Regions from separate parts of the Homo sapiens genome. Here regions 2 and 3 are each linked to region 1. The links are contacts of gene promoters, found by promoter capture Hi-C in blood cells and fetal thymus (Javierre and others, 2016). All regions are on one chromosome and are shown on one strand. The core of a region is centred on a gene start or on the middle of the fragment in contact, and the rest is flanking DNA. Distances in the headings are between cores, read along the strand shown.

What was found. The method cuts DNA at HindIII sites, captures the fragments that hold promoters and counts their contacts. A CHiCAGO score of 5 or more calls a contact.
Region 2: a fragment that was not itself captured here is called in contact with the fragment with the promoter of ADNP2 in region 1 in 1 of 17 cell types (naive CD8 T cells); the score reaches 6.0 in naive CD8 T cells.
Region 3: a fragment that was not itself captured here is called in contact with the fragment with the promoter of ADNP2 in region 1 in 1 of 17 cell types (naive B cells); the score reaches 5.5 in naive B cells.

Annotation. Positions count from the first base shown.
Region 1 is chr18:80,107,845-80,110,669 of GRCh38, forward strand. ADNP2 (ADNP homeobox 2) reads left to right here and starts at 1,418. Exons shown (of 4, transcript NM_014913.4): 1 at 1,418-1,628. RefSeq lists enhancers at 1-342, 1,169-1,670 and silencers at 1,480-1,639, 1,840-1,939. The HindIII fragment of the contact is 4,212 bases long and covers 1-2,137 here.
Region 2 is chr18:147,582-150,406 of GRCh38, forward strand. No RefSeq gene overlaps it. Among named protein-coding and RNA genes, the nearest start is that of USP14, 9.6 kb to the right of the region's middle. The HindIII fragment of the contact is 5,883 bases long and covers 1-2,825 here.
Region 3 is chr18:165,174-167,998 of GRCh38, forward strand. USP14 (ubiquitin specific peptidase 14) reads left to right here. Exons shown (of 16, transcript NM_005151.4): 3 at 1,614-1,646. Among named protein-coding and RNA genes, the nearest start is that of USP14, 8.0 kb to the left of the region's middle. The HindIII fragment of the contact is 966 bases long and covers 931-1,896 here.

The sequences.
Region 1 (2,825 bases), core at 168-2,667:
TTACCACTGTAACTCAAAGTAAAATCTTAACTTGTCAGCAAACATAAAGGGCAAACTCTACTTCAATTATGACTTGTATTCATGTAGGAAAAAAGCAAATTTTGGTCAGGTCATATCGGCCCACCATTTAACACAGTTTTAAAACGAATATGGACATTAATTTAGTGCCTATTATGTGTTTAGTCACTGGGCTAAACTGAGCAGAAGGCTCCCATTGAGAGGGAAAAGCTGAAATTATGGACGAGCGGATGGTGACAAGGAGGCTCTGGAGAGGGCGGTGGGCGGAAGGCCCAGCCTGGGCACGGCCTCTGCCCCGCGGTGGCTGGAGTGGGCCTCAGGGCTGGAGGCTGGCGGCGGGTTGCAGGGGCTCGGCGCTCTGGAAGGAGACGTGGCCTTGTGCTGAAAGGGGCACGTGTCCTGCAGACGGCTTCGCCAAGAAGGAACTGCCTGGAACAGCCACTGAGGGCGCGGCTGAGTTAGGGTCAGGGGAAGGAACACTGGAGGGGAGTTAGGGTCAGAGTCAGGGTTAGTGCTAGGTGAGGTTCAGGTGCAGGGTCAGAATTAGGGTTAAGGTTAGGGGCACTGGGGGAGGCGCCTGCGCTGCCCTCGTGGTTACTCCCACGTGCTCTGGGGCACGAGGGCGTCCGCCAGAGGCCTGGGGACTCCACGGAACGAAGACCTAGAGCCATTTTGAAAGCCCTACGCCATGTTTCCACTAATTTTGTGGAATAAATTATTATTGCTACACAATTGATAAACACCTGTGCAAAAATGAACTTTTAGGTTAAGAGTTTATACAAATGTATGCAATTAACCCTCTCCCCACACAACTTGTAGTAGATCTAAAAATCAGAATTCTCAAGAGAAGGTGTGATCACTTTCCCACAGGAATGATGAAGTCAGGAGACCCCAGCTAGTCGGTTCACCAGGATATGCCAATCATGGCACACTTGTCCCAGTTCTGGGAGCCAAAGTTTTGTCTTCCAATGGCAAGGCAGCATTATCACAGTTGGGCTCCCATTGGCTCTGAGATGTGGGCGGGGTCACCACTCCTGGAGCTGCCACTAGCTCCACCCCATTCCATGCAAATGAAGTCAAAGCTGTGGTGAGTCCACGTGATTAGTCACATGGTTGATGACACACTCTCCCCACCCCTTTAGTGACGTCATTGCCCACTCAAACTCTCACGAGAGTTTGCACAGATGTGGAAAGGAGCTGGCAGGGCAGTTCCCTGGGACAGAAGGGAGTCAGGGGGTCCAACAGGGGCCCCCCACTGCCACCCCAGAGCCTCCAGTCCATCTTTAGCCAGGGGCCCCGGGGGGCCTGTGGGAAGTGCCAGGGGCCCCCAAGCACACTCTGCTCTCATTGGCTGGCTGCGCCTACATGCAAATGAGGGCCAACGTCACTTCCTGAGGCCAATCGAGCGCCATTTTCTCTTTCTGGCTGCGCGGGAGGAGGGGACCAGTCGCGCTGGGGGTGGGCGCGCGCTGAGGCGGGGGTCCCGCCGCGCGGGGCGGAGGCGCGGGCGGGCGCAGGCGGCCCCACGGGACGCGGCTGCGCTCGGCGGAAGACGCGGCAGCCCTGCGAGAGGCAGCAGCGGAGACGCGGTGCTCCTCGGGCGCCAAGCGGTAGGTACGGCCCGGCCCGGCGCGGGCCCGCGCGGCGACGCCCCCTGCCCCGGTCCTGGCCCCCGCCCCAGTCTGGTCCCCTCCGAGCCCCGCCCCCGCCGGTACCCAGCCCACACCCACGCCCGCCGCCTGCCCTCGCGCCGCCCGTGGCCGCCTCGGGAATCCCGGGACGTTCTCAGGGCGCGGGTTCGCGGCCCGAACGGCGCCCGTCGACCCCCGACGCGCCCGCGGCCCGCCCCGCCCGCCGCCGGTCACGTGGGAGCGGGGGCCGCCCCGGGAGGGCGGAGAAGGGGATGGGGACCTGAGGGGAGAGTAGGAATAGGGGAAAGACGAGGACGGGGACCGAGGGAGAGAGGGGGGCTGGTGAAGGGAGCGAGGAGTAGAGGGAGAGGGAACGGGGATGGAGAAGAAGAGAGGGGGCAAGGAGCTGTGGCGACCCCTGTAAGGACTCCAGAAACGCCCCGCCCGCTGGCCCGCCCGCCGCATCCCCGAGACCGGGTTCTCCTGGAAGCTTCTCTCTGGAGGAGCCTTGAGTGACGGCAGATGTAGGTCAGGAGCTGACGGTGACACCTAAATCTGCCCAGGTTTTTTTTTCCCTAGAAAGGTTTGAAGAACAGCTGATAACGGGGCCCTGTTTCTTCATCGTTGAGCTTTTGATGCGAATATCAATAATTGATATACAGATGTTGACTTTAACATTACTTTTCATCTGCCGTTGCTGGTTGCATTGAAATAGATTCCGTTTACAAAATTTCTACTACAGTTGACTTTGGAATGTTAATTTTAACTGCCCTTTTAAATACTGTACAGATGCAGAATGAGAAATAATTAGATATTTTAAGTAGTTTATTTGAACAGAAGACTTGCCTGCGTGCTTAAAACTTACTCTATTTGCACGGGTAATCACTGCCTCTTGGGATCTTGAGGAATATACTGGCTGTGGAGGAGTGGGGTGGGGGAGGAGAAACTGGTAAGCAGGTAACTGACAATGCAGATTGGCAAGTGGGGCAGCAGTTTGTAGAGTACTGTGGGCATCTGCCACGCAGAGCCTTTATCAAAAGAGGGGGTTTGGAGTCTGGGTACCATTTTTGGGGGTGAGGAGCATTAGTGGGAGAGAGGACCACATGTAAAAAGAGTTGTGTAAAGTACATGTTCAGCTGTATTTGGAAGTCGGTAATGTATGTGTAACTTATTTAA
Region 2 (2,825 bases), core at 114-2,613, about 80 Mb before region 1:
GCAGTGAGCAGAGCTCGCGCCACTACATCCAGCCTGGGTAACAGAGCGAGACTCAGCCTCAAAAAAAAAAAAAAAAAAAAAAAAAGCTGGGTGTGGTGGTGCACACCTATAGTCCCAGGTACTCAAGAGGCTGAAGTGGAAGGATCACCCGAGCCCAGAAGGTCAAGGCTGCAGTGAGCTGTGATCACGCTCGGCAAGAAAGTGAGACCCTGTCTCAAAAAAAAAAAAAAAAAGAAAGAAAAAAAAAGTAAAAGTAACCAACAAAATAACTACAACCTAATTATTAAAAATTGGGAACCAGGCATGGTAGCTCATACCTATAATCCTAGCACTTTGGAAGGATGAAACAGGCAGATCATTTGGATCAGGAGTTCAAGACCAGCCTGGGCAACATAGTTAGATCCCCTCTCTACAAAAAGTGAAAATAAAAAAATTAGCTGGACATGATGGCACGTGCCTGAGGTCCCAGCTACTTGGGAAGCTGAGGCAGGAGGATCACTTAAGCCCAGGAGTTCAAGCCTGTGGTGATCCAGGATCCGGCCACTGCACTCCAGCCTAGGTGACAGAGTGAGACCCTGTCTCTAACCAAAAAATAAAATAAAATAAAATTGAGAAGAAAGAGGAAGAAGGGGAGGCAAAATACAGCATAACTGACCCACATCCTCATTGTTTACACTGGGGTTCAACAGATATTGCTTACACTTGATAAATTAAATAGAGTTATAAGCATATTATTCAGAATTATAGAGGTGACCACCAGGAGAGCTAAAATCAGAAAGAGTTAAAGTCAGTTGCTGATGAGAAGTGAGATTGTAGGTGGAATGAGATAGGAGAGTTTTGTTTTACTTTAAATGTTTTCCTGTTACTGTTTGAATTTTAAACCTCGTATGGGTATTGCTTTACTAATTTTTTAAAAAGTAGGTAACATTAAAGGGGTCTTTCTGCCTTAACTCATGGGGAGCCCTATGTAAGGCTTTTTGATTCAGGTTAGGGCTTTGCTTTGGAATAAGAGATCATCTGCAACAGTTGAGTACACAGACTTTTTTTTTTTTTTGAGAAAGGGTCTCACTTTGTTGCCCAGGCTGGAGTGCAGCAGCACAGTCTCAGTTCACTGTAACCTCCGCCTCCTGGGTTCAAGCGATTTTCCTGCCTCAGCCTCCCTAGTAGCTGGGACTACAGGCCAGCGCCACAACGCTGGCTAATTTTTGTATGTTTAGTAGAGAGAGGGTTTCACCATGTTGGCCAGGCTGGTCTCGAACTCCTGACCTCAAGTGATTCACCCGCCTTGGCTTCCCAAAGTGCTGGGATTGCAGGCATGAGCCACTGCACCCGGTCTACACGGACATTTCAATATTATTTTTCTTCTTTGTGAGGAATAGTAATTTTAAGAAGATAGAAAACCCCACCTAATTGAGACTAGTCTTTTAATCCTGGCACTCAGGCTCTCGTAATCTTGTCCCATATTGCCAGCTACCTTATCTATTACCACAGCCCCACATAGAGGTCCTCCATTCTGCTCTAGTTTCCCTTCTACCACCCACATGCATAGTTGCTATATATTTTAATAATTTTTTCTACTTTTCTACATTTTTTTTTTTTTGAGACAGGGTCTCGCTCTGTCACCCAGGCTGGAGGGCAGCGGCATGATCTTGACTCACTGCAACCTCTGCCTCCCGGGCTCAAGCAATTCTCCCACCTCAGCCCTCAACTAGCTGGGACCATAGGCGTGTGCCACCATGCCCAGCTAGTTTTTGTATTTTTTGTAGAGATGTGGTTTCACCATGTTGCCCAGGCTGGTTTCGAAGTCCTCGGCTCCAGTGATCCTCCCGCCTCAGCCTCCAAAAGTGCTGGGATTACAGGCGTGAGCCACCGCACTCAGCAATTGTTTTCTACATTTTCTGATAGACTGTGAATTCCTGGAATGCCGGGTCCCTAAGTAGACAGTCAATAAATAATTGTTGAATTGATGAATTTGATTGCTTTGGGATTTTGCTTTTTTTTGAGACAGCGTCTTGCTCTGTCACCCAGGCTGGAGTACAGTGGTGCAGTCACAACCCACTGCAGCTTTAACCTCCCGGGCTTCATCTATCCTCCCACTTCAGCCTCCAGAGTAGCTGCAACTACAGGTGTGCACCACCAAACCCAGCTAATTTTTTATTTTTTGTAAAGACGGGGCTTTCCCATGTTGGCCAGGCTTGTATTGTGCTTCTGGGCTCAACTGATCCACCGCAGCCTCTCAAAGTGCTAGGATTACAGGTGTGAGCCACTTTCTTCTCCTCCTCCTCCTTCTTCTCCTCCTCCTCCTTCTTCTTTTTTTTTTTTTTTGTTTTTTGTTTTTTGTTTTTACAGAGTCTTGCTCTGTCTCCAGGCTGGAGTGCAGTGGTCCGATCTTGGCTCACTGCAACCTCTGCCTCCTGGGCTCAAGCAGTTCTCCCACTTCAGCCTCCTGAGTAGCTGGGACTACAGGCACCCGCCACCACACTTGACTACTTTTTTGTAATTTTGTAGAGATAGAGTTTTGTCACGTTGCCCAGGCTGGTCTTCAATTCCTGAGCTCAAGCAATTCACCTGCATTGGCCTCCCAAAGTGCTGGGATTATAGGTGTGAACCACTGTGCCCAGCCAGGTTTTGCTTTTTCTATATTTCTCTAGAACCTTCCTGCCCCCAACTGCTTCCCACCCCCTTCAATTTCTTTATTCTCTGAATTCCTATTACCAATAACCTCAACCCATTCATTCACCAAATATATAGAATGCCTACTCCATGCCGGGTCTGTGCCAGGCCTAGGAGACACAGAGATGAACGGCACAGATGCAGGCACTGTC
Region 3 (2,825 bases), core at 164-2,663, about 80 Mb before region 1:
GACCTCAAGTGATATGCCTGCCTCGGGCCTCCCAAAGTGCTGGGATTACAGGCGTGAGCCACCACACCCGGCCTCTATTATTTTTAATAATATAAGTATAGCTTTAAAAAATACTTCCTTCAAGGGTTAGATAAAATGCTAAAGATCTATAGTTAACTTTAGAGATAAAGACAGGCTACCCCCACTGGGCAGTAAAACACACGTTGGAGGAAAATCTTTGTTTACCCCCGAAGGTACAGTATGAACCTTTGGCCTTTAGTGAACTTCATAGCCTAATCTATGCTGAACACTGTACTAGTGGTATGCTGTCGAGAATTATAGAAGTATGCGAATTAAATGAAACTGTGACTGCTAATGGTTACCATTTATTGAGTACTTATTTTATGTCAGGCTTTTATTATATTTTCTTTAATTCTCAGCTGTATGTTATCCATATCTTATATATGAGGAAATTTTATAAATGAGTGTCAAAGAGGTTTAAGTAACATAGTAAGGCACCAAAAGAGCATATGATTTATACATCAAGCAGATCTGTGTTCACTTCCCAGTTTTGTGTGACCTTGGGTAAGTGATCTTAGGGGGCATTTATAGTTATCATTCATTATGTTTAGCAGTCATAGACCTTAAATTGAGAAGGGCCTTTAGGAAGTTACCGTTCCATTTTAAAGCAGATAAAAGAGATAATTAGTGGCACCAATGAAGGGTAGACAAGCATATTGGGTACCCGATACCTTCTATAAAAGGGAGTAATATAGAATCGACTTTATCCTATGAGGGGAAAGGCCTAGCTGTAGTTAGTAAAAATATTACTCTGGACTAATCATGCATTTAAAAAAAAAATTCTTGATTTTTATTCAACATATTGAAAGGAAAGTATATACTTGCTTTATAGATGCGTTATAGACATTAACTCTTCATTCTTGCCACGTAAGCTTGTTATTTATTAGCTCTGCTGGTTCCAAACATCCAAAAAATAGGATCTATCATTTGTCATTAGTCAAGTGTTTTTTAGTACTTGCTAAAAGTATTTTTTTATACTTATGTGTTTTTTAGTATTTGATGCTGTAAATACAGGTTACTGCCTTTTGTATTGTGTTACCTTATGCAGTTGAAGCAAATTATTTGAAACCCTGGCTTTAGTACCACTTGTGTTTAAAAAAAATTTTTGTTTTTTTTTGAGATGGAGCCTTGTTCTGTTGCCCAGGCTGGAGTGCAGTGGTGAGATCTCGGCTCACTGTAACCTCTGCCTCCTGGGTTCAAGCAATTATCTTGTCTCAGCCTCCCGAGTAGCTGGAATTACAGGTGTGCACCACCATGCTCAGCTACTTTTTGTATTTTTAGTAGAGATGGAGTTTCTTTATATTGGTCCGGCTGGTTTCGAACTCCTGACCGCAGGTGATTTGCCTGCCTCAGCCTCCCAAAGTGCTGGGATTACAGGCGTGAGCCACTGTGCCTGGCCAAAAAAAATTTTTTTAATTGCCATAATTTTAAATAAAATCTGCATATAGGATAAATTTTATTCTGTTTTGAAGTACATTAAAATAAATTGATTATTAGATTGTGTTCAGCTTGTACAGTGGTGGTTAAATGTCTTTTGTTTGTCTTTGAAACAGGATGATGATTGGGGAAACATCAAAATAAAAAATGTAAGTATTATCTTATGAACGTTTATTATAATGCAGTAACCTCATTATGATACCAAAATACATTCCAGATGACTTTTTTTCATGTGTATATCCAGTTGTTCCAGCACTATCTGTTGAAAATACTTACCTTTTCCCATTGACTTGTGTTGGGCTCTTTCTTGAAAAGTAGTTATAGGTTTGTTTTTGGGTTTTTGTTTCATTGATCTAGTAGATTAAAGTTACACTAGTACCAAATGGTTTTGATTACTAAAGCTTTATAATAAAAGCCTTGAAAAAAAAATTAGCTGGGTGTGGTGGTGCACGCCTGTAATCCTAGCTACTCGGGAGGCTGAGGTGGGAGGCTGAGGCGGGAGGCAGAGGCAGGAGGCAGGAGAATCACTTGAACCTGGGAGGCGGAGATTGCAGTGAGCCGAGATCGTGCCACTGCACTCCAGCCTGGCAACAGAGCGAGACTCCGTCTCCAAAAAAAGAGTCTTGAAATAAGATAGTATATGTTCTTATGCTCTCCAACTTTCTCCTCTTTGAGATTTTGTTTGAGATTACATTGAATCTGTAGCTCAATTTGGGGAGAATAAACATCTTAACAATATTGAGTATTAAAATCCCTGAATATGATGTACTTCCTTATTTATTTAGGTCTCTGTTTTTCTCTTAGCAGAGTTGTAGTTTTTAAACATAGAGGTTTTGCATGAGTGGTTTTTTTTTTGAGACAGGGTCTCACTCTCACGTATGCCGGAGCACAGTGGCATGGTCATGGCTCGCTGCAGCTTTAAACTCCCAGCCTCAAGCAGTCCTTCCATCTCAGCCTTCCAAGTAGCTGGGACCACAGGCGGGTGTTACCATGCCCAGTTAATTAATTAATTTTAATTATTTTTTGTAGAGATGGGGGTGTCACTATGTTGCCCAGGCTGGTCTTGAACTCCAGGGCTCAAGCGATCCTCCTGCCTTGGCCTCCCAAAGTGCTGGGATTAACAGGTGTGAGTCACTGTGCCCAGCCCTTGCATGACTTCTCTTAAATTATTGGAACTTAACATTTGTTCGCTGCTTAAAATAATATTAAAAAATATTTCCAGTGTTCATGGCTAGAATGTAAAAATACAATTGATTTTTCTCTCTTTTTTTTTTTTTTTTTTTTGAGACAGAGTCTCACTCTTATTGCCCAGGCTAGAGTGCAATGGC